Linked DNA regions of Homo sapiens: regions 2, 3, 4, 5, 6 and 7 are each linked to region 1. Evidence: promoter capture Hi-C in human tissues and cell types (Jung and others, 2019). All regions are on one chromosome and are shown on one strand. Each heading gives the region's core, a stretch centred on a gene start or on the middle of the fragment in contact. The rest is flanking DNA. Distances are from core to core; before and after follow the strand shown.

Region 1 (3,271 bases), core at 203-2,702:
AGTGTTATGAGACTGAATGACAGAAATTAAAAGAAGTGTTCTACGAAGGCAAAGTTAGGTTTCTTATAGCAGGAAGGGAGATGCACACAGAGAAGTGGGAATCTCAGGAGACGGATGTGGCCAGGGGCTTTTTACGGGGGTTGGGCTAAGCATTATTAGTCAACGGGCTGTACTGCTATTTATGGTAGGTTTTGAATACCGTTTCTCCAAAATAACCTATTTCCTCCCCAAACCCAAACTTCCTCAACTGGGATCGAACTCAATCCTACAGCGTGTTCTGAGATTCTATACTCGCCTCACTTCTCCCAAGATCGTAAATTCTGGAGGAGCCATTCCTTCATCATCCATGTTTGCATCCTTCACACCGTTCACTGGTTAAGTGCTTAGTACGTTTGCTATTGGGCAAGGTCCTCAAACGGGAGGTGGACGTCAGAATAGTCAGGTTATCGACTGAGTAACTGTTAGTGGTGGATAATTTAAAGCCAATTTGAAAGTTCATCCTTTCCCCCAAAGGCAAAAACAGGCGTTCCTTTTCTTAAAAGAGAATTTTAAATAGAATTGGGTCTCTGGTGTCCTGCCTAAAGCCCGCAAAGAAAGAGGGTACGGTTGGGGGTGGGGGTGATGGGGGATACTGAACCCTTTTCTGGTTGCGCCTTGCCCGGAGCCCCCGGCTAGAGCCCTGGCGCTCCTGGCGCGCTCCCAACGCGAATCGGTGACTCCGCAGGCCGCGCAGTGCGGAGGTGCCCGTCCCACCCTCCCCCTTGTGGGGTGCGGGGCTCCATTTCCCCAAGCCGCTGGGGTCGGCTTCTGGTCTTGAGATGCGGATGAAGTGGTGTGAAGGGTTGGGCTTTTTTTTTTGTTCCTAAAAATGCAACGAACAAAAAAAAAAGTACAACAATCCAAACCCAACCATCTTAATTGCACGGCAGCTTAACTGGGAGACTTTCTTCCCGGGCGGCCCCACCCGGGACCGCGCCGCTTCAGTCGAGCCCACCGTCTGGGCAAACGGCGTCCACTTCCCGGAGCCGCTGCCCAGCCTCTGCGGGGGGGCTTTGGGCGGGCGCAGGACTCTGGAAGGGAGAAAAGCCCGCAGCCCGGCCCTCCCCGTCCCAGGCGGCCCGCGCGGGTGGACGGCGGGAGCAGGCGGCGGTTGGAGACGCCGGAAGGAACGCGGTCTCACCACCCGGCTCCCTCCGCCAAGGCGAGGCGCGGCCGGGGAGGCGGGACACAGGCGAAGCGGGACGGGGAGGCGGGGCCGGAGGTGCAGGCGGAGGCGGGCGACGGGGAAGGGAGGGGGAGGGGGAGGGGAAAGGGAGGGGGAGGGGGAGGGGAAAGGGAGGGGGAGGGGGGAAGGGACGGGAGGGGAGGGGGAAGGGACGGGAGGGGAGGGGGAAGGGACGGGAGGGGAAGGGGAAGCGGGAGAGGGAAGGGGGCGGAGCTAGCCGGAGCCGCGAGTCCATTTTGGGGCTGTGCTTGGCGCGTACCGTGCGGTCCCTGTAGTTGGAGGACGGGCGGTCGCGCGGCCTTTCCCACTAGCCGGAGGTCGGAGATAAGTACCCGCCGCCCGGCTCCTCTCGGGAAAGCGGGGTGGTCCTCGAACCTTCAGCGAGGGTGGGGAGTTGCCCAGGTCAGCAGGGATCTGCGTGGGTTGGGGGGGCTGGCGAAGGCCGTCTGAGCTCCAGTCCGGCAGCGCGGCAGAAACCAGCGGGGCACTGTCATGGGCCTGGGGAGGAGCGGCCTGCGGAGGGCGCCGGGGCAGTGTGTCTGTGGTCCAGAAAACCTGCTCCGTCCGGAGCCTTCCTGGCCCCGCTACCAGCGTCTCCACATCCCCTAGAAAAGAAAAGACGGGTGTGGGCCTTAGGTTACAGCGCGCCGCCAGCGTTTGGTTGCATGGCGCCGGGGGAGGGCGCCCTAACCGAGAAGCTGCTTAATACAAAGAGCTCCAGGCTCCTGGCGGTTCACCAGGTCTAAACAGCCGGGCTTTATTTGTGGGGGCGATTGAAAAAATTGAGGGTCAAGATTGGGGTGCTGTGCAAATAAATGCGTTAATACTGTTCTTTTTCTTCTTTCTTTGCAGTAGCCTCTAGTTCGTTAGTCAAAACGTGAAAAAAAAGACCTGCTTTGCCCTGGGAAATAGTAACCCTGCCAAATACATCAGCTTGTAGGAGACAGAGGTAAACTACAATAATTTTCCTGTGTTATCTTTTTTTTTTAAACACCCAATTTCAATAGGCCCTAGAACCTTCCAAAATGGAACTGTGTGTAGAATACGTATGTTCCCATCCACTTTCATTGGTGGTCTTTGTTCTTTGCATATTTTGTTAAAACTTAGAAAAACAGAATTCACGTTTAGCAATTATTTATGTGGTATTTATCTTAAATATAGCCAAACATTCATATTACAAAGGAAGAAAGGGGCTTCCACACTTTTTTCCTACTTTTTTTTCCCTTCTCCTATGCTTAGTGAATTGTCAGGCTGCTAGGGCTTGTAGAACAGGGCTTGAGTTTTCTAGAGACCTTTATATAATAGGCACTTTAAAAGCAGAATTTCATTTACATAGGCACTCCTTCTAGTAGAACTTGATGGAGCTGTTAACCGGCTATACTTCCTTCTTGCACAATGGGAGCGTCCCTATCCCTCCCTAAAAATACGTTTTTTTTCCTTTCTCCCAGCTGGCTTACTAAACCTCCCTGGGAAGTCCTTTCCTAAAACCGGGCTGTTCTGTTCATTCTATACATTTATGATAGGTTATCTGGCCTTAATTCTGTCACAGCTTTTGTTCAGATATGCTCATTTTCATGACACTGCTTTGTACCTGATACCTTATGTAATATTTGTTTTGCCTTGCCTTGAAATCACAGTTCAAGTTTAGAACCTTTTCTTGCTTGATACACTGATGCTCCAAAATAACACCTTAAATGTGTAGAGTTTGCCATATGTAATTAAACCTTATTTATGTTTGTATAGTTTCGTAGTTTATGGAATTCTCACACATCACACAGGAGTTGAGAAATTACTTTTAGGCAGCTAGAAAGGGTAAAAGAGTTCTCGGTGGAATTTTCCTTTAATAAAAAGCAGCTCCTGGCCGGTGACTTTGGGAGGCTGAGGTGGGTGGATCACTTGAGGTCAGGAGTTCAAGACCAGCCTGACCAATATGGTGAAATCCCATCTTTACTAACAATACAAAAATTAGCTGGGCGTGGGGGTGCGTGCACCTGTAATCCCAGCTACTCGGGAGGCTGAGGCAGAAGAACCACTTGAACCGGGACG
Region 2 (3,271 bases), core at 487-2,986, 970 kb after region 1:
CTTAGCTGGGCACAGTCACTCACTTCTGTAATCCCAGTACTTTGGGAAGCTGAGGCCAGAAGTTTAAGTCCAGCCTGGACAACATAGCAAGACTGTTTCTACAAAAAAAAAAATAAAAAATTAGCCAGGTGTGGTGGCACACACCTGTAATTCTAGCTACTTGGGAGGCTGAGGAGGGAGAATTGCTTGAGGCTAGGAATTCAAGGTTACAGTGGACTATGATTATAACACTCCACTTCAGCTTGGGTGACAGAGCAAGACCCTGTCTCTTAAAAAAGTAAAATAAAATAAATTAATCTTTACAACAACCCTCCAAGGTAGACCAGAAAGAGGTGGTATCCTTATTTTATTGATGGTCTGTGTGAGGTCATACAGACAGTAGGTGGCCAAGCCCAGATGCCAAGCCTAAGCCTCGTTCCTTTTGTTTACCCAAGGTTCCTATTCATACCATTATATGACCATTTAGCCTTAAATAATCTGTTTTAATTGCAAATTTTATTTTAAGAAAGGAAAAAAATCACATTTATTCTGCTGCATCTTCTTGCTTTATTCATAATGAATTCTGCAGGTCAATTTATCCTCAACGATGGCAAGCCAGAATTTAAGTAAAGCTTCTACTTAGCTGGTACATTTGCATGTCAAATCTTTAATTCAGCTGTCAGTGTTTTAGCATTTACTGTACTTTCATTAATAAATGTTATTTTGATGGTCTCAGGCTAATCAAGACTATTTGAAATGGGGGACGGCACCAAATGAAATTTACAGAGAAATCAGAGCTTCTTCATGGACTTTAAAATAATTGTTACTTTACACGTGTTTGAAATCAGAATACTTGTAAAATTAAAGTTAGACATGTTGTTCTTGCATAAACAAGCAAAAGAAGCTAAGGAATCAACTTAGATTTATTTGTTCCTTTAAGAGCATGTACTGAGCACCTGCTGTGTGCTAGACATGTTGTAGATAGAGGAAATGCGGATATCAACATGGCAGGCAAAAATAACCTGCCCTCAAGAATTTCCATTCTAGAGCGAGTAGACAGATGATATCTCAGATAGTGCCAGGGCCTATGGAAAAAGCTGACCAGGCAGGGCACTGAATTCTGGGGAGTGGGTGGTCAGGGAAGGCCTTGCTTCCTTCTCATCCACATTCTGGCATAGAAGTTTGATTTCCATGTACATGTTTTTTTTTGTAACATATAGCTCCAGAATACGTTATTTTTAACTTTGCACTCAATAAAAAATCAACTTGTAGTAATTAAACTTGTTCAGTACATTCTTCACAGGGACATTAGGTGCTACTACTTCTATCAGCAACAAGTATATGCTTATCTATTTTTTATACATTGGAGTCTACACAAGGCTTCCTGCTTTTTATAAAAGGAACTGCCTCTACAAAAAAAAAAAAAAAAGAAAAATGGTTTAAGAATTACTCATCTCAGAACGTTACTTTCGTGCATTTCTTGTATTTTATTTTTTTTCCTATAAGATGGTGCCCATCCTGTAAGTTTGGGCCACCCCAACATTATATTTCACTCCCTTTGAACATTCAAAGAAAAACATACTTCTTGGTGTGCTCTCGAGGAGCCTGCTATGAACCCTAGAATGAGATCTCGGAGGCTGGCCACGATGGGAACCCCTTCCTGTGTCTGAGGTCATCTCTTAGAAGCGAAAATGCTCAGCTGCCCTCAGGACTAAACCCGCCAGCCCTGCGTTCTGTTCTAGGAGCTGCAGATGGTGCTTGGGGTTTCAGGTGACTGTTTCTCCTCACCAGGACACACCACATGTTTTCCTTTCCTCTCTAGATGGCAGCACAAAGACAGAAAAGGGGCAAGTGATGGTGGTGGCTCCACGCAAGGCTTGGCGGTTTTCCCTGCAACTTCAGACACTCCCAGAGGACTCGGACTTTTTCTTCTGCACTTTTTTGGAAAATCGCCAGGTGCCAAAAGGTGCATTTTAAAGCGCTGACTGTAAATGCTTTATTTCTTTGATTAGTACCACTAGTCTATGTGGGCAGCGGCATTCCTCCCTGGAGCACTCAGCTAGGCGGTTCCGTCCAGGAGCTTGAAAGCATCCCAGCGGTGCACCTGTTCAGTCTGAGGACCTCAAGCTTGGGTCAGGCCAGCATGTTTTAGGTATGGATGTGGTGACTTAAAGTACTTGATTGTCTTGATTTCACCCTGAAAGCTTTGGCAAACCAAGTTTCAACCCTTACTTTAAAAATCTGACACTGCTTTACTCCATATCAATTTGGAAGCTTCTAATTCATAAATATACCTAAACGTTGGCATTTTATCTCTCCAGGAGTTATTAAACATTTCTTCCTTTTTAGAAGATTTGTCCAGTATGTGTATTATTTTATTTTTCAGAGTAAGGACATAGGAGATGACGGAAGGTTGGAAGTAGATGCCAAAAAGTGATTTGGTGGGGAATCTGGTGCGTAGTGCATATGTTTTAGCAGGTAGTGGGAGGTTTTGTGCAAAAATGTCTGTGGATTTGAGCTGGCTTGTCCACTTGACATGCAAGAGGAATGTGTGGGTGCTGCTCAGCTGATCTTCCCGCATTCACACAGGACCCCAATCTGCTTCTTCAGGAAATAATTTTGTTTCTGAATCTCTGACTACAAGGAGTATTAATAATTAGATCCTAGTTCTGGGAAGTAGTCTGCCACTTTTCCACACCTCCCTTCACATGTAGAAATTTTTGTTAACCTCAAAGGACTTTAAAAATTCCTGCCCTTCTGTAGTGGAAAAGTGAATCTTCCCTCTGCAAAAACCAAAGCCACTAGATATTGATAATGTCCAAGTTTGTCACTAGAAACCCTGCTGTCTTACCTGTGCCCCAAGTTTCTGTTCCAACACTTTAAATTCAAACACCTAACATTACAAGATTTCATTGGGTTGTTTTTTTTCTTTTCACAAGTAATTCATGATACATTCTCACAAAAAGAGAAGGCAGAAGTGATCCCCACCTCCCACTGCCAGCACTACTCAGGCTCCCCTGGGTGACTGCATCCTTGACCCTGAATCAAGCATGTTTCTTAGTTATCCAGTTTCCCACTTCCAGTTTCTATCTTTTGCCTTGCAGCCCGAGCAGCCCTACAGTCACTGTTCATGCAATCCATTTCATCGTTTCATCTAAGAATCCAATCCTATTGAGCTCTCCTTCAGAAATACCTCATGGGAAAATTAAAATTAAGACAAATCAAGAAATAGAAAACTCCAGCACTTGAATAAGCCCTTTTCTCTCTTTTTTTTTTTTTTTTTTGGAGACAG
Region 3 (3,271 bases), core at 365-2,864, 960 kb after region 1:
TAAACACTTGTAACTGGTATCTTGTTTTGTTGTGAGCTATTAAAACACCTGAACAAGTCATTTCTCCAATTAAACATTTTATGTCCATACAAAAGTACCTTTCATCTTAAGTTCTTGTAATGAACACTTTTTATTTGAATTATCAATGAAAAGTGAACCTCATCAGTTCAGTGGCACACACTTGTAGTCTTAGCTACTCAGGAGGCTAAGGCAGAAGGTCGCTTGAGCCCAGGAGTTCAAGGCTGTAGTATATGATGATCGCAACTATGAATAGCCACCGCACTCCAGCCTGGGCAACACAGTGAAACCCTGTCTCTAAAGAAAAAAAGGGAATAATGTCTAAGTGTTTATAATGACATCTGTGTTAGGAACATTTTGCCATAGAGAAGGAACACAAGCATCCTCATAACTTCAAGCTTTTTGTGTTTTGAAAATATTTTGGCCTTCAGCATTATTAGCTGTGAGTTTCACCCTCCTAGCTGAAGATACCTTTCTAGTAAAAAATGTGCATCACCTAAACACCCTTTGCTGTCTTAATTTAAATAGAAACATGTATTTTTTTTTTTGAGACAGAGTCTTGCCGTGTCATCTAGGCTGGAGTGCAGTGGCACAATCTCAGCTTACTGCAGTCTCTGCTTCTCAGGTTCAAGCAATTCTTGTGCCTCAGTCTCCGGAGTAGCTGGGACTACAGGCACATGCCACCATGCGCAGCTAATTTTTATATTTTTATTAGAGATGGGGTTTTGCCATGTTGGCCAGGCTGATCTCCAACTCCTGGCCTCAAGTGACCGCCCACCTCGGCCTCCCAAAGTGCTGGGATTACAGGCATGAGTCACTGCACCAAGCTGAAACATATATTCTTAACAAAGTTGCAAATATACATTCACTTGGTGCTGATAGGTGGTTCATTTGTGATGGATTAGTCTTTTTCTTTTAATGATTCATTTGCTAGAGGTTGCTGTGTGGCCAAGAGGTTTTCCTATAGTGTGTGGTATATTCCCAGGATGAGCCTCTGTTTTTTTACAGCAAACAATTTTAAGACATGGTGTTTTATCCTCTTGGGTTATGGGATAAAACACCATGGGCTGTGGAATCTTTTAGCACCAACTCTACCCGTTCTTTGTTTAGCAAAGCAGGGGCATGAAGAATGAAGCTGGGAAGAAGTCTGTTTCCTAGGTTAGATCCATGTTGGGTCTGGTCAACCTGGTGTCTCCATAAACAGCCTGAAAATTATAAAAATCTGGGTTGTGATCACCATGCAGTCAATTCTCCATGTTCAACAGCAAGACTTGTCTTCCCTGCTTTTGTACCTTTTACATAATAAGTGTGGCATGATTTCTTCTATATTGTGATCATTAAGGCCTTGACAAGATTCTCACATTCACTGGTGTAAAATGTTCATGTGAAAGGAGAAAATATTAAGTAAAGGTCTGACTTAGTTGCATTGGGCCTAATGGAAAGAACACTGTATCAGAATTGAAATCTTGGCCAAAGTCCTCTACTTGGTGACCTTAAGCTATTCATTTAGCCTCTCTGTGCTTCCCTCTCTTACTGGCTGCTTGCTTGTGCAAGGTTGTTCTTGCATGGATAAAGTAAGATAAATATTGTCCCTTCATTCATAAGTGGACATTAAACTGGCCCAGGAGGTAAATGAAATAGGGATTCTGGCTGGACACCTGGCCCCCTTCAAGAGACTATTCTCATTTTGACTTCTGTGCCTTGCATTCATCTGGTAATTAGCAATCCCCTCATGCCCACCACACCTGGCACCTACAAAGCCTGTGTTTGCTGGACCAGCTAAGGGGCTCAGCCATGTACTTACCCAATCATATCCACCATCACCAAGGCTGCTTCTTAGGAGTGATGTGTGGCTCAATTCCCTAGATGATTGGCAAAATGTAAAGGAGCCTGTAAAAAGTAAGCCCTTTGCTGGGTCTGCTGTCCCATTCGCCTCTGTAGAGGTCTAAATTATACATGTTGGGTTTTTTTTTAATGGATTGATGTTGTGTCAAAGTGACATTTGACACCACTTCACTGCTCTAATGTTGCAGAAAATAAAGTTATCAGATGAGCCTGTAGAAGCAAAAGAAGATTACACTAAGTTTAATACTAAAGATTTGAAGACTGAAAAGGTATGTGGGTTCAGGTGTAGTGGTGTTTCGTTCATACTCAGTGCGTGATGTGCATGAATACATGAGGAACAGTTGCACGCTTGATTGTGATTACAGTTTTGACCAGGAAGAATTATTAACTTGCATTTCTGTGACTTAATAATTAAGAATTGCATATGACAATGAAAATGTTAAGCAACTAAGACTTATTATTAGTCAGAGAAAAACAATATACTACTTATCAAGAGTGTGCCTAAATTTTGCTATGTATTCATAGAGTGATAGGGTGGGAAAGGAGGGAGGAAGCTCTACAGGTAATTTTTTGTCAACCCTGCTGCCCAGAAGCAGAAATTATGATGATAAAAATTAATAATTTCACCATTCAGCATTCACCCTGGCAAATGGCATTTTGGTAACAGTCCTTACTTAGTTTTATACATGCATTATAAATACATATGTGGCCTTTAACATTGGCATTATAATACTCAGTTCTGGGCTTTTTATTTAACATTAAATTGTGAAAATGTTCACATATCATTAAACATTCTTTGAAAAAATATTCATGTTTTTATGATATTCAGTCATGGGTGTTTGTTTCACCATATGGAATGTAATTTAATCATTTCCCTATATTTGGACATATAGGTTACTTCTGATTTTTTTATTTTTTGTTTTTATTGAAGTGATAGACATTCTTATTTACAGTCTGTATCTCCAATCATTTCATTAGACACAATTTTGAACTAAGACTAAGAGCTTGGAGAACATGAATTCTTTCATAATTGAAATATATATAGCTAAAGTGCTTTTCAAAAATGGAGAAAGTTGTGCTTCCAAACATTATTGCCAATGAGTATTTATCTTGCATTTTTGACGACATTGAGTATTGCTTTTATTCTTGAACATTGTTGCCTGTCAAATTAGGCTACATTTCTTTAACTAGAAAGGTTCTTTTTCCAAATGCTTATGGCCCATTTGCATTTTTGCAAATTGTTGGTTCCTGTCGCTTGCCTGTTTTTATGTTGAGATAGTAATGTTTCTCTGTTGCTTTGTATGAGCTCATTCTAAATTAAGGCTATTAACACTTTTCATGAAATATAGGATACAAACTTGTTTTAACTTTTTCATTTGATTTTTTAACAGTGTTAAATTTTTCTGAG
Region 4 (3,271 bases), core at 353-2,852, 930 kb after region 1:
AAGGTTTTGTGTAGACACCTGATACTTGCCATATTAGAGGTTTCTCCTGGTGACAGTAATACGGAATAGTAAAAGTATGGGAGGGCCACTGAGTAGTGCCTTGTTGTTATAGAGACATGTAAATAGAAGCAACAAGAGAAGAAACACATTCCTGACTTTCTCCAGTGTTCTTTTCTTCAAAATGAAATTGACTGTAATTGGTCAGCTATATTTAGAAATCTTAGTTATATATCAGACTAAGTTGACGTGAGAAATATTTCTTCAAGAGAAGTTTTAGGTAGCAGTAAAGGTTCTAAAGCATTTAAGAAAAGTACAGGTACAGAAGAAAGCCAGCCCTCTTTTAAAATTTCTGTTTTATCTAAATGCTCATAGACAACAGAGGAACAAATGTTTTTATTTGCTACATTGGCAGTGGGAAAGTAAAGGCTAACATTTGCTGAGTTCTTACTATGTGCCAAGTATTGGTTTAGGAAATTTACATGTGTTCTTTTTTTTAATTCTTATAAAAACCCTTGAGGAGGTTCAGTATTGTCTCCATTTTACAGATGTGGAAACAGCCACAGGAAGGTTTATGTAACTTCTCCAAGGGCACGTGCCCAGCATATGGTGGAGATAGAGTTAAAGTCAGCATCCTTGTCTCCAGAGATTGTGCTGTGGTTAAAAAAAAAATTTTTTTTTCATTAGTTGAAGTGATAAAACATGCAGATGTGCACAGTCTTCACCCTCTTGTGCCTCCTCCCTTTTTTTTTTTTTTTTTTTTTTTTGGTTAAGAAAGGAAAGGAAAAAAAATTCATTCAGTTGAATAAAGCTTTACTCACTCCCTATGGCTTCAAGCATGTCTGTCTTTCTCACTTAGGGTTGGCCTGTGGCTTGGTCCCTGTCAGACCCTGTGTGGGGAGAGCCACACACTGCCCAGAGGCAGGGACCCACGTGCCAGCTCATGTCATATGGCTGAACTGTTGTGTTTTGATAGTTTAGGAATGGATATTCCCTCTTGATCTGATGGAGGATTTAAGGACAGGCTTTGTATTAGTTAAGATAAATGACTTGCACTTTCTAATTTTTTGGTTTAAGTCCAGTGAGGATTATGGAGCTGGAAAACTACCATCTATGTATAATAGCTGTAAGCTTTCCTTGGAATCAGTTTTTTAGAATAGACCTGTGTATGTTTATGTTCATATTAGGAACATTCGTCAGAGATACTGGATAGTCTTTTGGGGTGTGTGTGTGTTTGTGTGTGTGTGTGAAAACTTACAAATAAAAGACAGATTTGTCTTAACAGGAGAAGGAGCCATTTACTTGTTCAATATGTGTCTACAGCAGCTGTTTGAAGTAAAAGTTTTCAAGGAAAAACACCATTCTTGGTTTATAAATCAATCAGTTCAATCAGGTAGGTGACTAGTGTAAGCATTTCCAATAACTAAACACATACTCCAGCTTTTCCATTCTTCACACGTGGGGTTGTGGGTCTGTCACCGGGTTTGGAGTCTGGTCACTGGTTTAGCCTTCCTTGGCATGAGAGCAGGTTTAATCAAGGAGAAAGGAAAGATCATTTGAGCACTAAGGTTAAGTCATCTCCTGTGTGTCTTAGACGGTAGGAAGTTTTAAACTAGCAACTCTGATTTGTCTCCTAAAACAGTGACACATCCTGAGTTAGAAGTTAGATTTGTACATGGGGCACATATTGTGTTGATTAGAAACTCTTTTGAGGATCTTTGTGTTTTTAACATGTTATTTCCTTGAAACTGGATACTGATATGGCTTCTAACATAGGCTAGAGCATAACAAAGTTTCTTTAAAATGCTTTGTCATATACCTGCCTGCCCACCTGCTCCCCCACCCCCATACACACATACACCCCCCAGCACCAAAGTTCTGTTTCTTGTGGTGTTCCCTTAATTTGGGGGCAGTGCTGACTAAAGGAAGAGTAGGCCAACGGAACTGTTCTGCCTCATGTTCTGGGGTGGGGGCAGTCAGTGGCTATTCAAAGAATCCTACATCCCCCTGCCCACAGACCACGGAAGGGACTGTGTATAGAGAGAATGGCACTGCTTTCCCATGGCTTTGTCCTCAAAAGCACAGGAAATTACATTTTACTGCAGCTTTATAGATAGACTGACGATACAGGTTCCCTAACATTGCCGTCTTCTCATTCTGTCTGTGCTTCCTCCTAACCCCTCGTTTTTCAGGGGGTTGGGAGGCTGTGTTAAAAATGATTTCTAAAGAAGAAATGGAAAGTTAAAGATCAATTTCAGGGTCTTGGTTCTCCTCTCCACACAGGGATTTGAAGCTCTTTGGAGTAAAATCTCATAGAGCACATTCTGCCTTTTGAGAGAATCACATAGACTCTGAGGCCTGTATAAGAAGAGATTTGAATTTGGAATTTCACATATATTTTTCAACACTGTTTTTCACTTTGAGATTAAGGTGAAATAGCCACATTGTCTTTCCAAGACGTTTAATTCCCTTCATCCTTTTTGTAATCTGCAGGAGGTCTTCTCCATTTTGCCACACCTGTGGATCCTCTATTTCTGCTTCTCCACTACCTCATAAAGGCTGATAAGGAGGTGAGTTTCCAGCTCGGAGCATCCACAGTGAGGAAACAGAATCAACTATTTTTGTTTGATCTCCTCTCTCTCCTTTTAATGATCCAAAGGTGGATTCTACCTTCAGATCTATTATAGTGACTAGAGAAAACATGAATCATATGGGCCAGTGCAGGACAGAGCACTACTGCACAGGCCAGAGAAGCAGCACCTTACTCTTGATCCAGTCTGACCCTGGCTTGCTTGTGACCTCTGACTTGCCTGACTCACTGTGCTGTGCACCTTACTGCTTGACAAAGCCTGACAGCTAACACTCCTTTATCATTAAGTATTCCTTACACTTGAAATACAAAACAGGTATTTAAAAATTGACCACATGTCTTAAAGAGTCTCTTCTTTAGTGAGAGACTGTGGAATAGGTAAACTGGAGCGGGTCCAATAGAAGCTCATTAATGGTGATGTGCTAGTTGAGACTTAAGGAATCCCAGATGGATAAAATTTACCTTTGGAATAGAAATAAAGACACAGCTTACTAATAGTAATAATTTTAGCCAGAAGTTCTGTAATATTTTGGTCTCAGGATACATTTACAATTAAAATTATTAAGGGTTCCAAAGAGCTTATGTTTCTGTGGGTTCTAGCAATACTCTTAGAAATTAAAACTGAGAGATTTAAAAATTATTTATTTAAAAGTTAAAAATAATAAGGCCATTACATGTTAACAT
Region 5 (3,271 bases), core at 535-3,034, 890 kb after region 1:
ATTTTAAAATCTTATTTAATAAATACTTCCCTACTCCAATGTCATAAATGCCCTATCCCCTCTCCCAGTCAATGGTCAGTGGATGCTTGTAGGGAGGGTGTGTGACTTTGGGCAAGGCTTATGGCCAAAGGGAATTCTTGGTGAGAGATTCAACTGGAAGCTATTCTAAGCTTACATCTCCAAATGAGGGAGCAAGTGCCTTGTCCTGAAGATCTGGTGGGCCATGCCACAGTGTCTACCACCCAGAATGATCTGATTAGTATTAATATAATATTTGTGTCATTTTACAAACACACAAAAAGCAATACGCTAGTTATGTATATATAAATACATTAAAAATTGCAAACACTTGTATGGGAATTATACATCAATTTCACCATCATGGGTACTAATGAGGGAAAATGGAGGTAGAGACGGAGGTAGGGATGAGGTATCTGAGGCTTCAGCCATTCCTTTAATATTTATTCCAAGAAAGATGGGAGGAGAAGAGAGAGTTAAAACAAACATGACAAAATGTAAAAATCAGTTCAATATTATGATACGGTGAAGATAGGAATATGTGATTATTTTTGTACTTTTCTATGTCTGAATACTTCATTATTTAACCCTAAAAGAAAATATTAGAGAATATGTCTCAGAGAAATAAGAACTTGAGAGTCATTCTGTTAGGCCTTAAGTGGTCATTGGGAGAGCAGAGATTGACATTCTGTGAATAGGGCTCAGGGTCTTAACTGTAAAATAAATTAGATTATTTTAAGACTACCTCCAATTTGGAAGAAAGACTTTCAATTTTATGAATGTTTTGATAAAATCACAGCTGTTGGTCAATGAAAGCTTTAATTCTGTGAAGAGTGAAATAGTCCTCCAATTGGATCAGCTCTTTAGTTTTTACAATCAAGTGTCAACTTTGTTCTTAGCTGTACCTAAGGCATATAGACCACTTTCAGCAAGCATTCACTAGATTGACCAGCTATTATAAACTAGGCACTGTTCTAGGCACTCGAGATAAGACAGAAAACAAAACAGATTTTTAAAAAGTTCTACTTTCCCTGTTAAAAGAATGAAAAGACAAGTCACAGAGTGGAAGACAATATTTACAAAACACATCTGATAAAGGACTTATATCAAAAATATGAAGAGAACTCTTAAAACAGCATTAAGAAAGCAAACGATGCAACTTAAAAATGGGCAAAAGATCAAAACAGAAACTTCACTAAAGGTGGTGAGGATGTGGAGCAGCAGGAACTCTTATTCATTGCTGGTAGAAGTGCAAAATGGTACAGCCACTTTGGAAAACAGTCTAGCAGTTTCTTACAAGCTAAGCGTAGTCTTACCATACAATCCAGCAATTACACGCTTTGGTGTCTATCCAAATGAGTTGAAAATGTGTGTCCACAAAAAACCCTGCACACAAATGTTTATAGCAGCTTTATTCATCATTACCAAAACTTAGAGGCAACCAAGATGGCTTCAGTAGGTGAATGAATAACTAAATTGTGATATATCCAGACAATACAATATGATATGGTAATGAAAAGAAATTAGCTGTCAAGCCACAAAAAGATGTGGAGGAAATTTAAAGGCATATTGCTAAGTGAAAGAAGCCTGTCTGAAAAGACAACGTGCTGTATGATTCCAACTGTAAGACATTCTAGAAAAGGCAAAACTATAGAGACAGTGAAAAGATCAGAAGTTGCCAGTGGTTCAGGGATGGAGGGAAGAGGGATGAATAGGTGGAGCACAGGGGATTTTTTAGGATCACCTATGTGATCCTGTAATATGGATACATGACATTATACATTTGCCAAAACCCATAAGACTGTACGAAACAAAGAGTAAACTTACGTTAATAATAATGCATAAAGATCAGTTCATCAGTTGTAGCAAATGTACCACACTAATGCAAGATATTAATAACAAGGGAAATTTAGGGGGGTTAGGGTGAGATGGGAAAGGGCATTAAGGAAACTCTATGTACTTTCTACTCAATTTTTCTCTAAAATTAAAACTGATCTAAAAAATAAAGTCTACTAATTAAAAAAAAAGAATCCTTGTCTTTGTGGAGCATACACAATGGTTGGGGGAAATAAGTAATGTGTTTATAGAAGATGGAAATACTAATACATTCCATGGAGGAAGGAAAAAAGCAGAGAAAGCCAATAGAGAGTGAGGAGTTGCCATTTTAATTGGATGACATGGAAGGCTTCCATGAGAAAGGACATTTAAGAATCAATAAAAAACTCAAAATGCTTCCACTGGATGGGCACGCCAGACCTCATTTTCAATGAAGCATCTGTCAGAGGCTCAGGAAAACACTAGTGAAAGGGTAGATTAGATGACAACACTTAACCCTTGATCAGTGTTAACAGTACTAAAAATGGGACCACGAGACCTCATGTGCCGCCTGATGGAATGCAATCGGAAACACGCGATAGTACCTATGGAGTATTTGCCAAAATAAATGCATCTGAATCTAAGCAAGCTTCACACTCAGGCAGCAAGCTCATGAAAAATACAAAGGAACAAGTTATTAGATTAATGGGTTGAATGAGAATGCGATCAGCAAAATCTGGCATGCCGGAAGTTCTACAGGACAAATGAACCAATGTCTTCAACAAACAAAAAAACGGCTAAAAATGGGGAAGTGGGAACTTTCATAGATTAGAAAATACCTAAGAGACATTTCAACCAAATGCAATTTGTGGACTTTACTCTGTGATTTCAACAGGACTGTAAAATATATTTGAGAAAATTGGGGACATTTGAACACGGACTGCGTAATAGGTGAAATAATAGAATTAATGTTAATTTTGTCAGGTATGATAATGGAATGGTGGGTTTGTGGTTTTTAAAAATGCTCATCTGTTCGATTTATATACTACTGACTTAATTATGGATAAAACAATATGACATCAAAAAAGGTGAATAATAGATAAAGCAAGATGGACAACTGGGGCTGGACCTGTGCTTGGTGGGTCCTTGGTGTACCTGGTGGGTCCTGAGCACCACCCCGGTGGTTCTAGGTGTGCCCTGTCAAATTCCTGAAAACTCCTCTTATAAATGTGCAAATATTTATAATCAGTTTTTTTTTTTTAATAAAAAGAGTCTAACATTCTATGGCGACATTATGTGTAAAAAAATTCCTTTGGATCAGTTATGTGAAATATTTTTTAAAAACCAAGAAAAATGTTAAAAATTGTTGAATTTGAATATTGTGTCAATGGGGTTCATTATACTGTCTTTCTACTTTTGGATGTTTGAGAATTTCCTT
Region 6 (3,271 bases), core at 469-2,968, 790 kb after region 1:
GACCCATTGGAAATTGAAAATTGGAATCTGAAAATTTGAGTGCTGAATAGTCCTTACAGCCTTATCCTCAGCTATAAAAAAAGATCACTTAAGGCAACTTGGCCAACTACTGGGTGATTAAGAGGCTGCAAAGCTAAATGGTAAATTAAGCTTTGTCTTCCTCAATGTTGAACCACCTAACTGGGAAACACTCCTGTGGCATCACTTCCTTCTTCTCTGGGCTGTAGCTGAATTTCCTGACTTGGGAGTTGAAGTTGCCATTCATGACTTGGAGATAAACACTTCAAAACGTCATGGGAAGTACCAGTTTTCTCCAAGAATAGAGCATTTATCACCAACACTTGCCAAATGTTCTCAGGGAACAGAGAGATAGAAATACAGGTGTGGCCATGGATATTCCAGGCCCTTTATTCTATACTCTCATTATCTAAAGGCAGCAACGCCTTTAAAATGACAGAACATACTGGCCGCCAGAATAGAAGGAAACCACTACTCATAATTGCTTGAACAGACTCTAGCATAAAGGACCAGCATTAAGATGAAAATTAGGTGGAGAAACTCCAGGCAGCCATCGTTTTGAAGCAGATCATGGTGGCAGAGATTTGGCAGAAGGAGACTTTCGTGTGACATCATTTTGCTTGTGTGGTTTTACTAATAAGACTTTGATGGGTTCAAGGTTCTAGAAAATACCTAACTCTTGGACTTTACATGGGCCTGAACCCCATCATCAAAGAGCCTGATTTTTACCCATTCTGGTTTCTCTCTCTACCTGTGTGGCAAATACACTTGGTTCACCATATGCCATATTCATAGATAATCACAAGACTCTAAAGAAATGACACAGCAAATTATGTAATTGCCCAGAAGTTTCCTTGCCTGGTTTTTGGTTGTTTTGTTTTGTTTTTTAGTTCCTGAACACATAGATAAGAGCTAATTTGTATACGTGTACTATACAACATTAATACAATTTACCATGTAGGTTAATCCAGAACCTGCCACATAGTAGCAGCTCAGTGCATATTTGTTAAATGAAATAAATACTCGTAGGATTCAGCAGGAAGAGAAATCCAGAACAGTTAAGAATGGAGAAAATTGCTCACTAATACATGGTGGGTAAATACAGGACTTCCCTGGAACCAGACTTCCTGAGTGAGAATCCCAGCTTTACCAACTGAATCTCTCTGTCCTTGGGCAAACCCCATAATTTCTCTGTGCAAATGATAATTTTCAAAATGGAATTTTTAGAAAACATAAAATCCTTTATTTTTTAACTCTTTGTGTGAGTTAAAAATGAATGTTATGACCCTCAAAGGGCATCTGAGGAGTAAGGATATTTACAGAAAATTTAACAGAGAAATATTAGGATAAGATTGCCAGGTTAGATATAATCTGGGTAATGTCCAACATGCCATAAATCACTGAGGTTCTCGGTTTCCCTGATGATAAATTATTTGTAAATCTGCTGGACCAAAGTCTTCAAATTAACAAGTGACTTCCTTAAGCCTTGGAACTTTAATCAAAGTTGAGTGATGAGGTAAATCAAGGACATTATTCAAGAAAATCCTTGAGTGGCCTTTTCTCTCCTATGATATTGAAAGAACATGTCTCTCACCTTTTAGCCTTCGTTTCAAGTTTTGGATAATTTTTCTGGCATCACCTTCCTTATTATGAGGATAAAATGGGTTAACATAACAAAAAGTCCTTAAAACAGTGCCTGGCGTTTACTTAGTAAATGCTGTACTGACTATGAGTTTTCCTGGTGAGGTCAGGCCTGCTTAATAATGCCCAGGAGGGGATTTAAAACACAAAGCTCAGAAATGTTACTGTTAGCATTACTTCTCCAATCAACAGGGACCTCCCACTGTTAAATCAGAAGAGAAATGAATAACATTGTCTGCATTCTCTGTTGTAATTACTAACATTTAAAGTAGCATTTGGGGTTTCATATCCCATGACTCTCAAAGGGAAATGGAACACCAGCATGTGTTGGGGGCAGGGAGATAGCAAAGATGGAGCAAATCAAAGGGCGGCACCCCTCACTGGCCATATCAAATCCCTGCAGAAGTCACCTGAACCACCTCCCACTTGCCATCCTTGCATCTTTGCTGACACCTCTTGCCCCAGGTGTGGAAACAGCTTCCTCACTGAGCTCCCTGCCCCCTGCTGTTCCTACTTTCCATTCATTCTCCACTGGTCACCAGACCTACTGCCTAAAACATGGATCCAATCATGTCATTCCCCTGCCCTCCCCCCCACCTTTAACAATGACCTACTACCTACATAGCAGCACCCAAGACTCCCTGCCATCTATCCCCACAGACCAGTTCCACCCCCATCTCCCCGATGGACTCTGTGGCCTCACTCTCCACTCATGTTGGACCACCCAGCTCAGCGCCTTCCCTCTGCTCATACCCATTGTCCACGTCTCCTCTTCACAAACCCATATTCACTCCTCTCTGACTCACTCTGATGGATCCTCTGCTGTGAAACCTCCCCTAAGCCCAAGCCAGTAGCCTACATTTCCCTCCTTTCCACTCTCACAGCTCTGTTCGTGGCACAGCAGGCGTTTCCCCAGCACCATAGGATTCTCCCACAGTTAGATAATCTGATAGCATCTCTATCTCTCAACTGTGACTCCTGAGGGCAGGGGCTGAGTTCCACCGGACCTCGCATTTCTCAGTCTCTAGCTGTGTGCAGGCTCTGTCCCCAGCCTTGTAAGTATTCTCTTAACCAACTCTCTTGCCTTATTCCAACACTTATCCTGGTTGGAGCCTGGCTAGACACCCAGCAAACCAATCTCCTCACCTCTCAGGGCTCATGGCTGGACCACATTCCTCAGCCTCCTCTTAGAGAGGGGGTGGAAATGTGGGCACCAGTTCTGGGCTGGCCTGTGACATCTCCCAACACATTCCCCCAGACCCTCCTGTGCGTGTGTGTGAAAACACTGACGAATAATACCAAGGCTGTGAAAGAAAAGGTTGAAGTCAAAAGAACAATTCCTGGCACTTAGCAGAAAGAACCTCATTGTCGAGGACACTCTAAATACTGAGCCTCCATCAATGGCTGCCTACATCTCCAACTCCAGGGCTTCAGAAAGAACACAGAGCAACCACTCTGTCCTCTGTGTCCTAGAGTGACAAGCAGAGTGAGACTCTATCACTCTTCAAGGAGCCAAGAAATGAAAATATTACAAGGGAATAAATATTTCCTGAGAGGAAAATAGCATCAAGGGCCCTCGCCTGGGATGTTCAAATGTGGAAGTGATTCATAG
Region 7 (3,271 bases), core at 408-2,907, 770 kb after region 1:
ACGCAGTGAGTCAAAAGAATAATGGAATTAAATAAGTTCAGAGGCTTTAAGTGTTTCTTAAAACACTTATCTATGAACCCCTAATCTTAGTCATTTCTGGCACAGTTGTTATTCATAAGCATTTGATCATCATTCATAGAAGACTGAACAAATTAACACAATGGATTGTCTTGGAGATGAAGGGGCAGTGTACTATTCCATTTAGCTTGTTCAGGGAACTTGAGTCAAATCCCTTGAGTGTTCACTCCATCAGATAGTCCATGAAATGCTGATGAAGATATAACAATTATCCATAAAGTTAGAGTGTTCACTAATTAAGAATACTGAAGAATGAAGTATATTAAATGGGTCATGTTGCACCTTTTTTGGGTTTGTTTTGTTTTGTTTTGTTTTGTTTGAGACAGAGTCTCACTCTGTTGCCCAGGCTGGAGTGCAGTGGGGCAATCTCGGCTCACTGCAACTTCTGCATCCTGTGTTCAAGCAATTCTTCTGCCACAGCCTCCAAAGTAGCTGGGATTACAGGCACGCACCATCATGCCTGGTAAATTTTTGTATCTTTAGTAGAAACAGGGTTTCACCTTGTTGGCCAGGCTGGTCTCTAACTCCTGACCTCAGGTGATCCACCTATCTCAGCCTCCCAAAGTGCTGAGATTACAGGCATGAGCCACTGCCATGTTGCACCTTAGAATGAATTTGTGTTTGTGATGTAGAGGAGAATTTATTCAAAATTAAGAATCACTAAAGACAGGGTATTATTAGGAAATGAAAAATGGCTTTTACTCCAATGACTCAAATAGCACTGCATCCTTCACATTAATAAGATGTTTCTACATGGAGGACTTTAGAAAGCGAAGCCTGAAGGGTGCAGACAGGGGAAGGAAAAAGGAAGATAAATGGAAGAAGACAAGGGAAGAGAAAATGAGGAGGAAGGAGAAAGAAGAGGAGGAAGGAGAAAGAAGAGGAGGGAAGGAAGTTTGGAAGAGGCTGGAAGAATTTGTTTTCTCCACATTCTGGTTCCCAACTTGGTCCTCTTCTGGCAATAATCAGGCCCTGGGGGAGAGAAGAGTAAAAGACAGAAAGGGCAAAGAAGAGAATAAAATAAACAGATAGAAAGGAAGAAGACCAGGAGAAATGTGAAGGAGGAAAGAAGAAATGTAGAAGACACCGAGAACACAGATATGTTAAAATGACACTAGAATGAAAGTTAAGCTTAGTTCAGCAAAAGTTTTGAACCCCTCACATGTGCCAGGCACTGTACTGGGAGCCAGCAATATGAAGATGAAGGAGACATGGCCATTGTTGTGGAGGCACTCAACAGGGAAGAACCAAGGTTGAGAAGACAGCAAGTGAAGGCCAAGAAAACTTGCATTGCGTGGATTATTTGGAGGCTCAAAAGGGGTCAAATGCTTTTTCTCTAAGCACTTTTAGTGATGAATTCCCATTTCATCTAATGTGGTTTCTACTTGACATTAGCTTTTGGACTTTTTCAGAAGATTTCTTAAATGTACTCTTTAGTAGGAGGGTTGGGGGTGGGGTGGAGAGAAAAGGATGCGTGTAGCTTTGCCTCAGCAAGTTTCATTCCCCTTCCAAACAGATGTTGTCTGGCTAGAGCAACACAGCATAAAACATGACTACTGGATTTGGCACAAAATGTACCAATTAACCTATGTTGATTAAGTCATGTAAAAGCAACAGGGCTCACTGAGCATTGGATGCTGTTTAAAGAAGGATACTGTCAGCCCAAATTGCTCACTCCCATCACGTTCGGCATCATGTTCAGCACAGCTGCAGCGGCTGCACTCCACCCGTCTCCTTGTCTCCTCACCCAGCCTGGAGCCCTGCAGGCTCGTGCTGGGCTCTTAGCAGACTGCAAACATGGAAGATGAACCCAAGATTCAGCTACTCCTAGTATGTCTGCTTTGAAATAATGAGAATAAGAGAATAAATGGTCTCTTTCCTTGTCTTCCTTCTCTTCCTACTCCTCCTCTTAATCTCCCCTTCCTCTTCTTTCTCCTTCCACACCACTTACCAAACTTCGGGAATCTCTCTCTTTCCCTCATCATCACTCCTTTCTCCTCCTCTTCTCTTACTTTTCCCTCTGTTCAGCACCTTCTCTTTATGCTGGTGACAGGCTCAGGAGTCCCTACATTCCCTAGGCCTAGGGAATTGGCTTTCCAACTGTTCATGAGAAATCCCTGCACAGCCAGTTTAAACTCAGGCAGGCAGGCCCCACTGCTTATGCCTATAATTAAAGAAGTTTGGAGCATGGCCTAAGACTCGACACACTTGACATCCCACCCCCCACGCCCCACCCCTGCCAGTGATTCTGATACAGGTGCTGTACATACAGAACCCTGGGAAATGCTGGCCAAACACACAGAGCAACACTGGTGTGCACAGCCAGAAGACAGCTGGAGTGGAGACTTGTCTCCCCTGGGTCTGTGTCCTGGTTTTTCTCCTGCCTGTCTGAACCCTCATCATTGGCTCCTTTTCCTTTGCCCACTACTTAGACGTTGCTAGTTTCCAGGGTTCTATTCACAGTCCATTTCTGTTATCCTACACACTATCCCTGATGGCTTTCATCCACTTCTGTAAATGAGAACAACATCTATACATTGAAGGCTGAAATGTTTATTTCTAGCCCAGAGCTTGTTTCAAAACTCCAGACGTGGCCGGGCGCGGTGGCTCACGCCTGTAATCCCAGCACTTTGGGAGGCCGAGGCGGGCAGATCATGAGGTCAGGAGATCGAGACCATCCTGGCTAACACAGTGAAACCCCGACTCTACTAAAAAATACAAAAAATTAGCCGGGCGTGGTGGCGGGCGCCTGTAGTCCCAGCTACGCGGGAGGCTGAGGCAGGAGAATGGCGTGAACCCGGGAGGCGGAGCTTGCAGTGAGCCGAGATCGCGCCACTGCACTCCAGCCTGGGCGACAGAGCGAGACTCCGTCTCAAAAAAAAAAAAAAAAAAAAAAACTCCAGACATGCATTTCCACCTGGATGTTCATGGTAAGCTCAGGCTTACCATGCTCAAGACTTAGTTCATGGGACCATGGTTCAAGAGGGAGAAGCATACTGAACCCTGTCTGTCTTCCCCAGTGGAGCTCTAGCACCTGGGACAGCTATTGTAGGACTCTGGAAGTTGGAAAATAGGACCAGAATTCAAGGCATCACCAAATAGGTGGTGAGCTTCCCACTTTTCCTCCAGTGTCCCCTAGCATAGACTCAAGGCAGCCGGAAACCTGGAAGTAAGACCAGGACCAGCATACACA

Evidence for each region. The method cuts DNA at HindIII sites, captures the fragments that hold promoters and counts their contacts. A contact is called where the count stands out against the background at its distance.
Region 2: a fragment that was not itself captured here is called in contact with the fragment with the promoter of TRIM13 in region 1 in 2 of the 25 tissues and cell types used here (dorsolateral prefrontal cortex and heart right ventricle).
Region 3: a contact is called between a fragment that was not itself captured here and the fragment with the promoter of TRIM13 in region 1, in 2 of the 25 tissues and cell types used here (dorsolateral prefrontal cortex and lymphoblastoid cells).
Region 4: a fragment that was not itself captured here is called in contact with the fragment with the promoter of TRIM13 in region 1 in 1 of the 25 tissues and cell types used here (lymphoblastoid cells).
Region 5: a contact is called between a fragment that was not itself captured here and the fragment with the promoter of TRIM13 in region 1, in 4 of the 25 tissues and cell types used here (dorsolateral prefrontal cortex, heart left ventricle, hippocampus and 1 more).
Region 6: a fragment that was not itself captured here is called in contact with the fragment with the promoter of TRIM13 in region 1 in 3 of the 25 tissues and cell types used here (IMR-90 fibroblasts, lymphoblastoid cells and mesendoderm cells).
Region 7: a contact is called between a fragment that was not itself captured here and the fragment with the promoter of TRIM13 in region 1, in 3 of the 25 tissues and cell types used here (lymphoblastoid cells, mesenchymal stem cells and spleen).

What each region holds. Positions count from the first base shown.
Region 1 is chr13:49,995,590-49,998,860 of GRCh38, forward strand. TRIM13 (tripartite motif containing 13) reads left to right here and starts at 1,453. Exons shown (of 2, transcript NM_213590.3): 1 at 1,453-2,174. It overlaps DLEU2 (deleted in lymphocytic leukemia 2), which reads right to left. Exons shown (of 14, transcript NR_152566.1): 11 at 1,485-1,830. It overlaps MIR3613 (microRNA 3613), which reads right to left and starts at 912; the gene lies at 826-912. RefSeq lists silencers at 420-469, 1,060-1,189 and an enhancer at 750-879. The HindIII fragment of the contact is 11,924 bases long and covers 1-3,271 here.
Region 2 is chr13:50,968,131-50,971,401 of GRCh38, forward strand. It overlaps a transcript of RNASEH2B not described here. Among named protein-coding and RNA genes, the nearest start is that of RNASEH2B-AS1, 59 kb to the left of the region's middle. The HindIII fragment of the contact is 4,557 bases long and covers 1-3,271 here.
Region 3 is chr13:50,951,854-50,955,124 of GRCh38, forward strand. RNASEH2B (ribonuclease H2 subunit B) reads left to right here. Exons shown (of 11, transcript NM_024570.4): 10 at 2,052-2,132. Among named protein-coding and RNA genes, the nearest start is that of RNASEH2B-AS1, 43 kb to the left of the region's middle. The HindIII fragment of the contact is 3,908 bases long and covers 1-3,271 here.
Region 4 is chr13:50,928,193-50,931,463 of GRCh38, forward strand. It overlaps RNASEH2B (ribonuclease H2 subunit B), which reads left to right. Exons shown (of 11, transcript NM_024570.4): 3 at 1,283-1,390; 4 at 2,491-2,567. Among named protein-coding and RNA genes, the nearest start is that of RNASEH2B-AS1, 19 kb to the left of the region's middle. The HindIII fragment of the contact is 4,324 bases long and covers 1-3,271 here.
Region 5 is chr13:50,884,724-50,887,994 of GRCh38, forward strand. All of the region lies in intron 2 of RNASEH2B-AS1 (RNASEH2B antisense RNA 1), which reads right to left. Among named protein-coding and RNA genes, the nearest start is that of RNASEH2B, 23 kb to the right of the region's middle. The HindIII fragment of the contact is 5,967 bases long and covers 1-3,271 here.
Region 6 is chr13:50,785,466-50,788,736 of GRCh38, forward strand. It overlaps a transcript of DLEU7 not described here. Among named protein-coding and RNA genes, the nearest start is that of DLEU7-AS1, 21 kb to the right of the region's middle. The HindIII fragment of the contact is 8,678 bases long and covers 1-3,271 here.
Region 7 is chr13:50,764,504-50,767,774 of GRCh38, forward strand. It overlaps a transcript of DLEU7 not described here. Among named protein-coding and RNA genes, the nearest start is that of DLEU7-AS1, 42 kb to the right of the region's middle. The HindIII fragment of the contact is 4,034 bases long and covers 1-3,271 here.